Linked DNA regions of Homo sapiens: all the other regions are linked to region 1. Evidence: promoter capture Hi-C in 16 types of primary human blood cells and fetal thymus (Javierre and others, 2016). All regions are on one chromosome and are shown on one strand. The core of a region is centred on a gene start or on the middle of the fragment in contact, and the rest is flanking DNA. Distances in the headings are between cores, read along the strand shown. Region 1 holds the start of CSGALNACT1 (chondroitin sulfate N-acetylgalactosaminyltransferase 1). Region 2 overlaps CSGALNACT1 (chondroitin sulfate N-acetylgalactosaminyltransferase 1). Region 3 overlaps CSGALNACT1 (chondroitin sulfate N-acetylgalactosaminyltransferase 1).

Evidence for each region. The method cuts DNA at HindIII sites, captures the fragments that hold promoters and counts their contacts. A CHiCAGO score of 5 or more calls a contact.
Region 2: a fragment that was not itself captured here is called in contact with the fragment with the promoter of CSGALNACT1 in region 1 in 7 of 17 cell types (neutrophils, non-activated CD4 T cells, naive CD8 T cells and 4 more); the score reaches 12.7 in neutrophils.
Region 3: a fragment that was not itself captured here is called in contact with the fragment with the promoter of CSGALNACT1 in region 1 in 2 of 17 cell types (neutrophils and naive CD8 T cells); the score reaches 16.1 in neutrophils.

Annotation. Positions count from the first base shown.
Region 1 is chr8:19,755,826-19,758,526 of GRCh38, forward strand. It overlaps CSGALNACT1 (chondroitin sulfate N-acetylgalactosaminyltransferase 1), which reads right to left and starts at 1,452. Exons shown (of 9, transcript NM_001354483.2): 1 at 1,361-1,452. The HindIII fragment of the contact is 8,664 bases long and covers 1-2,701 here.
Region 2 is chr8:19,527,898-19,532,601 of GRCh38, forward strand. All of the region lies in intron 2 of CSGALNACT1 (chondroitin sulfate N-acetylgalactosaminyltransferase 1), which reads right to left. Among named protein-coding and RNA genes, the nearest start is that of CSGALNACT1-AS1, 150 kb to the right of the region's middle. The HindIII fragment of the contact is 2,077 bases long and covers 1,276-3,352 here.
Region 3 is chr8:19,544,841-19,549,544 of GRCh38, forward strand. All of the region lies in intron 2 of CSGALNACT1 (chondroitin sulfate N-acetylgalactosaminyltransferase 1), which reads right to left. Among named protein-coding and RNA genes, the nearest start is that of CSGALNACT1-AS1, 130 kb to the right of the region's middle. The HindIII fragment of the contact is 9,869 bases long and covers 1-4,704 here.

The DNA of each region.
Region 1 (2,701 bases), core at 202-2,701:
GTATTTTGATATTGTATTATGTGGAGTACATATGGTGTGGCAGCTCAAGGCAGACGAATTATTAAATATGTACGGTGATCTTACAATGGGTATGGCCCGTCTCTTGCTTTCTAGGAATTGACCATCTTCCGGCAGCCCAACACCTAGTCCCCTGTGTATTATGCACTATTACAAAACGTGTTCAAGTCGCCTTTTATGCCTAAGGCTTACATAAAAATTCATCTTGCCTTTCTGCGTCTATTTCCAAGTTTGAAGGACCTTTCTCCCTCCAATTAGCAACATTTCAGCACTGCACAGGGCTTATTAATGCTCACTGTTGCAAGTAACACCAAGGTAATTTGACTTTCTTGTAGGAACAATGTCGACGAAATCCTACAGAATTAAATTTAAATTTCCAGTTTAAAAAAAAAAACCGTGAAAGAACACTTCATTACCTTTATTATCTAGACGTATCTAATGACGTTAAGTAAAAACTGCACCAAGGCTTTGAAACCAGAAGAAAAGTGGAGTTTGTGAAATTTAACCACTCCATGCTTTTTATTAGTATTTCACTTATGAGTATTTCCCGAGGCTCACTGTTTTGGCAGGCACAGTGCTGTTAACATCTCTTCCTTTCTCACCATTCTTTGCTCATCGATGAAAAGATAACTTCAAAATCTCTGACAGGAATGCAGGTGCAGGAAGTGCGACGGAAACAAACAACTTTGCCTCCGCTTCCTACAGCTTTCCTCTCCTCCCCGCCCTTCTAGCCCCCATCCCACCCCAAGATCATGCCCTCGAACAGCTTCTGCCCACCGATCGCACGTCCCCTGGGCATGTTCGGGCAGCGGTGACCCTCAGCCACATCCCCCACTAGCCCGGTCCCGGGCAGGCGAGCGCGCTGCCCACCGGCCACCCTCGTCACGCCCCCTCCACCCTCTCCATCCCAGCCACAATAATACAATAACCGCAGTCATCGCGCGGCACGTGGAAAGGCTACTTTTCAGTGGGTTTTGCAGAAAGCAATCAGACAGCGGAAGGCCACGAGAAACGCTGGTGAAGCCAAACCGACCCCGGGAGCGCAGCGGCCCCGGACCCTCCCTGGAAGCTCCCTCCGCGTCCCCGCGCGCCCACCTGGAGGCGCCGCGCCCTCCGCCTGCCAAGCCGGTCCCCGGCCCCTGCCCGTGCCCTGGGCCCCCGGCGGGCAGCGGCGGAGGGAGGCCAGGCGCGGCACCGTCCTCCGCAGCTGCACGAGCCACCCCGAGGTCGCGGGGTGGGCGGGCGCGAGCTAGGCGCGCGGGGCTGTGGGGATCTGCCGGCGCCACTGACGCCCCCGCGCGGCACACCGCGCCCGGCTGGCCCGGGAGGGGACCCGACTCACCCGAAGCGCCCTGCTAGCTGCCCGGCCCGGCTCCGGCCGCTGCCGCCGTCGCTGAACTTTCCCTCCTGCGCGGCCGCCGCGGACTCGGCTCCACCTCCCGCTCCGGCAGCCGCGGAGCCTCCAGGGACCCCGGGGGCGGGGAGCAGCGGCGGCGGCGGCGGCTCGGGCGGGCGGGCGCAACAGCGGCCAAGCCTGGCGCCCCGCCGCAGGGTAGGTCCGGCGGGGGCGGCCAAGGCCGGGCTGGGGTCGCGGTTGGCCGCGTACCTCCGCGTCACCCACGGCCTCTCTGCAGTGCGTCCCTGCGCCCGTCGGAGCGGCGCCCTGGCCGAAGCCTGTCACTCTCGGAAGGGGCCGCGCTCGGACACCAGGGGCGGTTTACGCGTGACTGGACACCAAGAGCCGGAGAAGTTTAGAGACTAGGACACTGTGGCGTGGCCCGAGTTGCAGGAGAGAGGTGTCCAATCTCCATGGGGTCCTTACTCTTGCAGGACAGAGTTCCCCATCCCCCTGCTCCACCCGCTCTGTTCCCTTGGCTGCCCTCCCCGCCGAGCGCCGACTTCCATGCAAAAACTTTGTAAATCGCACTTCGGGGAATTCACGCTTTAGTCGCGGTCTCTGCTGCCCTGGTCAGCTATAACGCCTCCCCTAGAGAGCTTTTACTTACAGCGAAGGTCAGGAACCCCTGTAACTCTCACACCGCACCACTGTGGGTAAGCGATGTCTGCAGGGACCCCTGACGGCCACTGGGAGGCCAGGAGAGAAGAGGGAGAGGAAAGGCTAAAAAGGCAAGTGGAGTGTTGGGTAATAAAAGATCCACCGCCACCTCCAGCACACACAGGCAGGCACCCTCCAGGGCCACAGGTCGCCTTTTATCTGTAAGTGCTCCAGCGCATCTCTGTGGGAGAGGGAGTTGGGAAATAGGATCGCCAATTTTCAGTGTAATTGAGGGGGACTCAGGAGGAGTCAGTTAGACTGGAAGAGGTCATCACCTGCAGATGCGGTTAAGCAACTTGCAGAGGCCCCAGGGCTGAGCCACCGCAGAACCGGAGCTGGAAACCAGTCCTATGACTCCTGAGGCAGTGCTCTTTCTACTACCTGGCCATGGCTCCTTCTACTGCCTGGCTCAGAGTCTCCATCTGGGAGATTCCGGCGCACCAGACTTTATTGTGGGCACAGGGTAGGCAGTCCTGAGGCTATAGGCACAGTCTTGAAGCAGCTCGGTTTCCATTAAGCTCCTGCTTACCTGCAGGAAGCATCCCTGAAGCAAGTTTTGCTTCCCACCTGGACTCCCCAGGTGGACCTATCCCCACCCCACACCCTGAGTGAACTCTTCACCCTCGT
Region 2 (4,704 bases), core at 1,064-3,563, 230 kb before region 1:
TTCAGGGCCACTGGCATATTGATAGGAATCAAACCGTAAGACTGAAGGAGATAAACTCAGGGAGAAAATCGAGTGGGAAGAAAAGGTGGTGCTGAGTCTATAGGAACTCCAACATCAAACAGCCAGGAAGAGGAAATAAGCCTGCAAAGCAGCTGGAGAAGGAACTTCTGGAGATGACCCACATTGTTATGAACTTGGGGGCTGAGGCTCTGCCTGAGTAGGTTTGACACAGGGCTATCCAGAACTGACTGAGGTAGCCTGGCTAATTCTGTAGCCCATTTTTGCCACGTATCCCGGTCATGTTCTCCAAATTAGCCAATATTTGTGTCTCCATCTGCCCGAACACCATTTTCCGACTCGTTCAGGACTGAGAAAGAAAAAGAAAAAAAAAAAGCAAGCAGCCCTTGATATTCAGAAGCTTGCCTGACAGTCACGGCAAGGTCATGTTATTCCGCTATTAGACATAAACCATCTCAAAGAAAACCAGCCTCACACAAGTGATAAAGAGAGACAAAACAAGGCCACTCCATAATTTTGTCTAAACACAGACAAAAACAAGGTCAACATGTCACCCGCAAAATACCAAACACCCCCTTTTCTTGGCCAAAGTGACTGCCTCTTTACTAATTACAACTTTATCCTCATTCTAGACCCCCATAGTAAGATTTACTGAGATACCTTATGTGAGAATTACTCTTTCTGAGGAGATCCAATCTAGAGCAAATCTCTCCTTCCTTAAACCCACCCCCAAATCATCCAACCAAGACCCAAATCTGTATGATGGGTTCTCCCTCAACACCCTCTTACTAGGATACCTCACGACTTCCCATGGTATGCATTCTCCTTTGCAGCAACAAATAATAAACCCAGCGTGTCCAACTACAGAGTGTGCCTAACAGTCTTTGGCTGGAGGGAACTGACAGAACTCAGATGTAGAAAATAAAGATATCAAACCCCTAGATACCCCAAACGCTAAGGCTAGGATGGTAGTTCTCTCTTGAGATGGAAGAAGTGGGATGTGACTGGGGAAGGGCACACAGCCTTCAGAAGGTCTATGAGTAATGGTTGTTAATGTTAAGATTTTATTTATTAAACCAAATGGCGAGTAGATGGGGCTGTCATTCACAAAATTTTGAAGTCTCAAAATTTGAATATACCTTTAAAAAGAAGGATTCAGTGGACAGCAACGTCAGATGCTGCCGAGAAATCAAGTAAGCTGAGAACTGCAACAAAGCTCGGTGAGTTGAGCAACGTGGGGGTCAACGGTAACTTAAAAGCTTTTTTGGTGAGTTGTTGAGTGCGAAAGAAGAGTGAATTAAAGACAGAGTGGGAAGGAAATGGAGACAATGAATATGCAGAAATTTTTCCAGAAGTTTAACTGCATAGCAGAAGAGTGAGAGTGAGTGAGCAGTAGTTGGAAGGGTGTGTATCAGGGAGAAGACCAGGGCATTTGTGCAACTGACCAGACCTGTGGGCCTTGACCACTACTGGGCATCAGCTCTTCCTCCTGGCTCCTGGAATCCTACTCAAGGCTGGTGGCAAACAAGTAGGAGCTAAATCAAGAAGAAGCTCTTATCTCCTGTTTCACTTGACTTTGACGTTTGGGCTCTTAATAACATTTCATTCATCATTACTGCAACCCTTTCCCCATTACTAATAAATATCAGGAATAGTTATCAAATACGTATCAATATCAAAATAGCAGTGAATGAAAAAGTGGTAAGGGAAAATGTGTCTATTCATTAAAACTTCAAATACACACACACATACACCCACACACACAGAGTTGTCGCTTGGTATCCATGAGGGACAGATTCCAGGACTCCTCCATGGATACTAAAATCCATGTATGCACAGCTCCCTTATGCAAAATGGTGCAGTACTTGTGTATAACCTAAGCACATCCTCCTGTATACTTTAAATCATCTCTACATTATTTATAATAACCTAACACAATGTGATGCTATGTAAATAGCTATTGTACTATTATTTGTATAATTTTTACAATTATTTCTCATATTTTATTTTTTAAAATAGTCTCAGCCCAACACAGTGGCTCACGCCTGTAATCCTAGCACTTAGGAAGGCTGAGGTGAGCTCTTGCCTGAGCTCAGGAGTTGGAGTCCAGCCTGGTCAACATGATGAAACTCTGTCTCTACTAAAAATACAAAATAATTAGCCAGGCATAGTGGTGCGTGCCTGTAATCCCAGCTACTCGGGGGCTGAGGCATGAAAATTGCATGAACCCAGGAGGCAGAGGTTGCAGTGAGCCAAGATCACGCCACTGCACTCCAGCCTGGGCAACAGAGCGAGACTCTGGCTGAAAAAACAAAACAAAACAAAACAAAACAAAACAAAAAAAATTCAATCCATGGTTGGTTGAATCCATTCAATATCCATGAATGTGTACACATACACACACACACACACACACACACACACGCACACAAGTACTGACTGTACATGAGTGTGTATGTGTATATATGTAAGTGTATATATAATTTTATAATATCTATAACTCTTTGCTTCATTAACATAGATGAGTAACAGATTTTGCATTTATGACTTAGTCTCTACATTTATGCATTATAATCATGACATGTAAACTTTACTAGAATTCAGTCGCTAAACTCTTACTTCTAAAAAAATGTAAAACCGATAGCACAGCAGAAAAAAGTAAATTGTTCACCGGGCACAGTGGCTCGCAGCTCGAGTCCCAGTTATTCAAGTGGCTGAGGCTGGAGGATCGCTTGAACCCAAGAGATCGGGGCTATAGCGAGCTATGATTGTGCCACTGCCCTTCAGCCTGGACAACAGAGCAAGACCTTATCTCATAAAGGAATAGAAAAGGAAAAAGTTGATTGTCCATGAAGTTAGTAAGACTATTTACCTGAAGTCACAGACTTTCTAATGAGAAAGGGACTGGTGAGGAAAAAAGAGTCACACGAAATGAGCAACAGAAGTTTTGTTCAACACAAATATTTCCCTGCAATCTGGAGTGTGTGGAGTTACTGCCTCTAGCCCCACTGCCTTGAACCTACAGGGGGTTCTCTGCCACTCCCCACAGAAACTGTCATCAGTCAATCAGTATCAGCTGATCTTCAAGCCTGACACTTCAAGTGTGAATACCTAAGAATCTGAACCCGTGGTTTCTTGCTAAGGCTTCCATTTCCTATTACATGAAAACATCTTGATGATTAAAAGAAAAATTAAAACCTTAGACTAATTCCAGGGAGCTTGAAACTCTTCAGAGATAGAGCTATTTTCTAAATCCTCATGACATTCCACCAAGGGAGGCAGATATCTATCATCTTTATTTTAGAGTTGGAAACATTGAAACCCCAAAAGCACAAGCTTCTTAAAAAGAATGTAACATAATCAGTCTGCCAGAATTTTCACTCATAGCTCCACATAATTTAAAAAGTCAATGTAAGTCAAATGGGATGGACGTTAATATTGCCATTCCCATGAGACATATTCTGGACTGCTAAAGAAATTGCAGGGCAGGAGGCAGAACACCCAGCTCAGTCCTAGCTGGAGCCACAGCTTTGAGTGGATCACTTCATTTATTTAAGTTCCCTTATTTACAAAATACTATCAAAATTTACAATGCAATGGCATCTCCAAGTCCTGTTTCTAACACCACCGCTTACCAACTAAGTAACCTTGGCAAATCACTAAAGTTCTCTGGGTCTCAGCTTCTCAGGTGCAAGGAAAATTGACATAGAATCTCATGACTTCAAGGCAGGAGCCCTCAACACCTCACCTCTTCAGAGTATAGCCAAGGTGAAATTTTTTTATCAACTGTGACTTCGGTGGAACAAAAGAACTTTGTTGTTTGCAAGCAAATTCAACTTGGCTTTCACGTCCCCAGTCTGCAGGGAGCACACCACCCATCATAGCCTGTTCTGCTCTACTCACTGTGATCCAGTGGTTCCTTTTGGCCAGATGCAGGTACTGCCCAGTCCAAAGCTCAATGTCTTTCCAGCAGATGGGGCCTCTGGGTTTCTCCTGCCTGCCCCTTCCCTTTTCCCTGGATGCTTGGGCTTCTGGAAGGGAAAAGAGGAGCCTGGCCCTTCTGAATCTCTCTACTTCCTGCCTGCTGGTTGAGTTTTTCTTTCCTATTCTAAGGAAAATAGTCCTGACATCATATCCTGCATGAATGCCATGGTGTACTGTAAATTCTAGGCTCTGTTGGTCTTGGCTGGTAGGAGAGCACAGAGCCTTCGTCGCTGTTTCTTTCTGTCTCTCAACAAGTTTAGCTTTTGGAAATTAAAAAAAAAAAACATGTTTGTTTGCACATTATTGTCTCGCTCTGGACCTTAAAACAATCTCATTTTGATCCTGGAAGCCCAGCAGCCATGGCTTCTTTATCCAAGCTATACCCACCCTCCTCCCAAAACAACAATTATCCCAGTTTCAATGGATGCAAAGCTGCAGGGCAGTGAGGAACAATTAGGGGTGACTGGGGATGAGGACATATGAGCCCGGTATTTTCAAAAACATGAGCCGTGTTACAAAAGCCTTTTATGTCTGTCTTCTCTTTTCTATTCCCTTAAACATCTCTCTGCTTTAGGTTCCTATCATGACAAAAGAGCTCCCTAACCAGTCTTCCCACTCCAAATCCTCACCACAGCTGCCATTATAGTTTTACTAAACCATGGCTTCAATCATGATTTTCAAAAATAATGACCTGGAAAGTCC
Region 3 (4,704 bases), core at 600-3,099, 210 kb before region 1:
CTGTGTATCTGAGATATAAAAAAAGTTCCCCAAGAAGACAACAAAGGAAGAGGCTATCGTTTACACACAGGACACCAGAAGTTCCTTTCCTTTCAAAAAGGAGAAGTTTTCAAAGAAAAAATGGGAACCAGGGGAGAAGCCAGTCAGTCCATCCTTTCAGACATTTTTTTTTTTTCCAATAACTTAGCTCCAAAGACCAGGATAAATCACGACGACACAGCGACTCCTGGGAGTTGTTCTGAAGCACAGTGAAGTCACTCCATGTCACCCTGGAAGCTAGAAAATATATTTTCCTCCAATAAAACTGTTAAAATCCTATCTCTGGACTTGACCCAGTCTTGCCTGTCACCAGGGAGGCCTGTTCATAGCAGTTAGGTGGCTGCCATACTTGGTATCTCCTACTGTAGTGAAATGAGGATGTCCTTGTGGTTGAGCAGAAATGAGATGAATGAAATCCCAGAAAAATCATTATTTTTCTATAAAACAATTAACGTTTAATTGAACATTTAAATTCATAGATAACCCTTTCACGAAAAATGAGATGGGGAAAATTTTCCTGCAGACTTATCTTGGCAAAGCCACCTCATGCCTATAACTTTTGTCTTTGATAATAACTGATGTAGAAAAAGCATAAAACATGATCATTGATTTCTGTCAGATGAAAAAGCAGATGGCAAGTGTCCTGATAGCAAAGACTCTGTCTTACATTTTTATTCCTCCTCAATGCCTAGTATGGTGTTTCAAACATAATATGCATTCAATAAATGTCTCTGGGTCAATGAATGAGTATGCTAAAAAGATAAAGTAGTAAAACAATAAGGGAGAAAAAACGTAAGGAAATGGTTAATGCGAAACTATAACTTTTCCTCCCAAGTCTCCAGGCAACTAAAGTTAGATGACGTTAATGAGACCTGCTGAGAAAAGGATATATATATATATTTGTAAACACACACATTATATATCTATATATATTAATATATGTATACATATATTATGTATATATAATAGTTATATACTATATATTATATATAAGTTATATGCTATATGTGTATACATATATAAGTTTATTTTTCTAAAACAGCAAAACAATGCACAAAAAATAAAATAAAGCTCACAATTTGCAAACTGCATGTATAGTTATAGTGTGTGATTCCTCCACAGATAGCCCAAGAAAATTTAGGTCATACAGTTGTCATACCATTAGATCAAATTTTAATAGTCCTTTTCACTTAAAACAAGAAGGAAGTTTTATAAGGAAACAAGACTCAATATATTTTACACAGTCAATTCAATAGCACAAATAGATATATGCAGATAAATTCAGCAGAATATATTTTTAGTATGCTTTGCCCAATTTCCATATTCACTGATATTTATCTGTCAAGTATATAAATACATAAAACATGATTAATCGTGTTTTTGTAAGTAAGTTGAACATGGCTTTCATATATGCCTAGAGGGCTGTGCTTCAATATTACGGCTTTTATTTTCCCTTCTCCAAAATGGCAACACAATACCCATCTGTCAATCTTATTCCTACTATAATCATCAAGTGGTAATTAACCTCTCTGGAATATTAAGGACTTTGTGGTCATGGACCTCAATAGAACATTGAAATAACTATGCCTCACTACTCTTCAATGAAATAGGGAAGTATCACTAAGAATTAAGGATGGAACACAAAGCTAACTACAAGTTTCTTAAACAAATGTGGCATCAAATTATTTAGAAAATAAATACTTGGAATACCATCTGATGCTGCACAGCCACATCCACTCTCCCAAGTCAGTATTCTCATGAATATTGTTTCTTCCCCCTACCCATTCTTGGGAATATCTGAAATGTACAATAAATATTCTTGTTGCTACTAGCACAGAAATGTAATAAACAAAAACCTATATGAAACCCCTCCAAACTCAGATGAAACCTAAAAAGCAAACACAGGTGACTAGGAAGGCTCCTCTTTACAGAGTTTGAATCTAGACCAAGCTCAGATCCTGCCACCACAACTGAGGTCCCCGGATCAGTGTCACATAAGGTTCAGGGTGCAGAATGATCCTATGGCTTCACAATATCTCTTCACTGTCAAGATGCTCTTCGCAGAGGGAGCTGAGAGTAGCTGAATCATCCATCAGATGCGTCTTCTCTAGAAATACCTGACAGTGATTTTCCAGAAACACCGTCTGAGAACTTACCAGTGTCTCACAGTAGACTCTCCTGGGTTTTCTATACCCAAGAATATAACAAATATAAAGTGATATCCTCAGTCTTTCCAGCAAGAAAAAAAGGCCAGGACACGAAGGGCTCCATGATGCCACAGGACAAAGCAAAAATGCCAGCAGTGTTTTGTTAAAAGTCTGCTCCTCCTTTGCTGGTATTTTTGAGGTGTAATATAACACACAGCCAAGTAAGTGACAAGTAAAAGCTCTAACTGGTCATCTATGGTCCAAGTCTGATAACTAACTGGAATCAGAATGCATTTCAGTGTTTTGTGAATGACATGGCTTGGCTGTGTCCTCACTCAATTCTCATCTTGAATTGTAGGTCCCTTAATTCCCATGTTTTGTGGGAGAGACCCAGTGGGAGATAACTGAATCATGGGGGTGGTTTCCCCATACTGTTCTCATGGTAATGAATAAGTCTCACGAGATCTAGTGGTTTTGTAAGGGGTTTCCCCCTTCGCTTGGCTCTCGTTTCTTTGCACTTGCCTGTCACCATGTAAGACGTGCCTTTAGCTTTTCACCATGATTGTGAGGCCTCCCAGCCATGTGGAACTGTGAGTCCACTAAATCTCTTTCTTTACAAATTACCCAGTCTCGGGTATATCTTTATTAGTAGTGTGAGAACAGACTAATACCGTAGAATACAATAAAGTATACTCTAGAAACTTTCACTTATATCAAGTATAATAGTTAAAAACTTGGAAAAAGGGAGATGGATCACTGATTTGTACAATAAATTCCTTACTAGCAAGTAATACTGAGAAGTGAAAGAAAGAGTAACATTTACATAAAAGGTGATGAGGACCAGATGGCCACTGCCAGACCCTGAGGGATTTGGGTGTGTTGCCAGGGGGTTGGTAGTTATTGATGGGAAAGAGGAGAGAGCAGCTGCCATTTTCCTAAGTTCCCACCATATTCCCGGCATTGTATTAAGTGATTCATACGAGTGATGTAACATCGCTCACATTAACTCTGTGAGGTTGAAAGTCTGGAAATGTCCAAAGCTGGAAGTAGACTATTATTGGATTAAGTATTAAATGTTTCAACTAAATATTGAATTTGGATTATATTTCAGCCAAACACTAATTATTAAAGAGAGGAGAGGCAACTTGCCCATTTCAGTCCAACTGGAATTTTCCTCAAGGATAGCAAATCTGAATTCTAATGATTCTGGCACTTTTTTCTAATGCTTAATATTGAAAATAAAGTTAGACACTAAAATTGCTTAATATTAAAAATTAAGTTAGACAGTAAGTGTGAATAATAAAGCTCTGACAAATTCCAATATCAAATATCAAACCAACCATGACTCTAAACTCATGATTCATATGAGACTAAAAAATAGATTATTTTTCAATATATTCCAAAAACTCACTGCTGTTTTTCTCAAGTATTATTTTTAAAAAATATTTTGTGAAATGCATTATTCACATGAAACTAAACAATAGATTACTTTTCAATATATTCCAAAAACTCACTGCTGTTAGTTTTTCTCAAATATTATTTTTAAAACATTTTGTGAAATATGTTAAAATTTTACATGTGTAAATATACTTTTATATACATGGATTTATTTTAACTTTTATCAAGCACATGATTTTAAAATCAAATGGTACTATAAGACTGACAATTAAAAATAGCAGCCTTTTGCCCTCTCCAACTTCCCTGAGTCCAAATGATCAAAAGACACTTTCAACTCTTTTAGCTGTTTTCTTTAGTATTTATCTTCATATTTTAGGTAACGTTCTTCAACTGCCATGCTTATCCCTTTATTTGAGAGAGGTCCTTGCCCTTTTGCCCTTCTACAGTAGAGTGGTGCAGTCACAGCTCACTGCAGCTCCCGCCTCCCAGGCTCAAACGATCCTCCTGCCTCAGCCTCCCAAGTAGCTGAGACTACAGGTGCATGCCACCATGCCTTATACTCTTTGAAATTTTACAGAGATAGTGTCTCACTATGTTGCCCATGTTGGTCTCCAACTCCTGACATCAAGTAGTCCTCCTGCCTCAGCCTCTCAAACTGCTGGGATTACACGCATAAGCCAGCAAGACTAGCTGCTTATCCTTTTTTTTTTTAATAGCAATTGGTATCCCAGTGTGGAAGATCAGGATTTAGTTCTCTTACTTTTTCAACACACTTTTCCTCTCCATCCTCTCCCCTCGAAAATCCAATCAATTTAACCATTACAATTTTTAGTAACAATAATACTATTTATATAACAGTATTTTGTCTTAAATATTGTTCCTAACTAAGCCCAATGATGCACTGTCATTATAGTTTTCTTAGACAACTTTTTGTTTTTTCTTGCTATTAATAACTGCTTCAATTTTTCATTTGGTTGATTTCTCTATGTATCTAACATTAATTTTCCCCACACTCTAACACAGAACTAGAAAACTGATAGATAAACAATTAGGTACTTTTTCCAATTTCTTTTGTTTTTTTCCTCAGGCCATCCTTCCTGGTCTCTTCATCCCCTGGTCC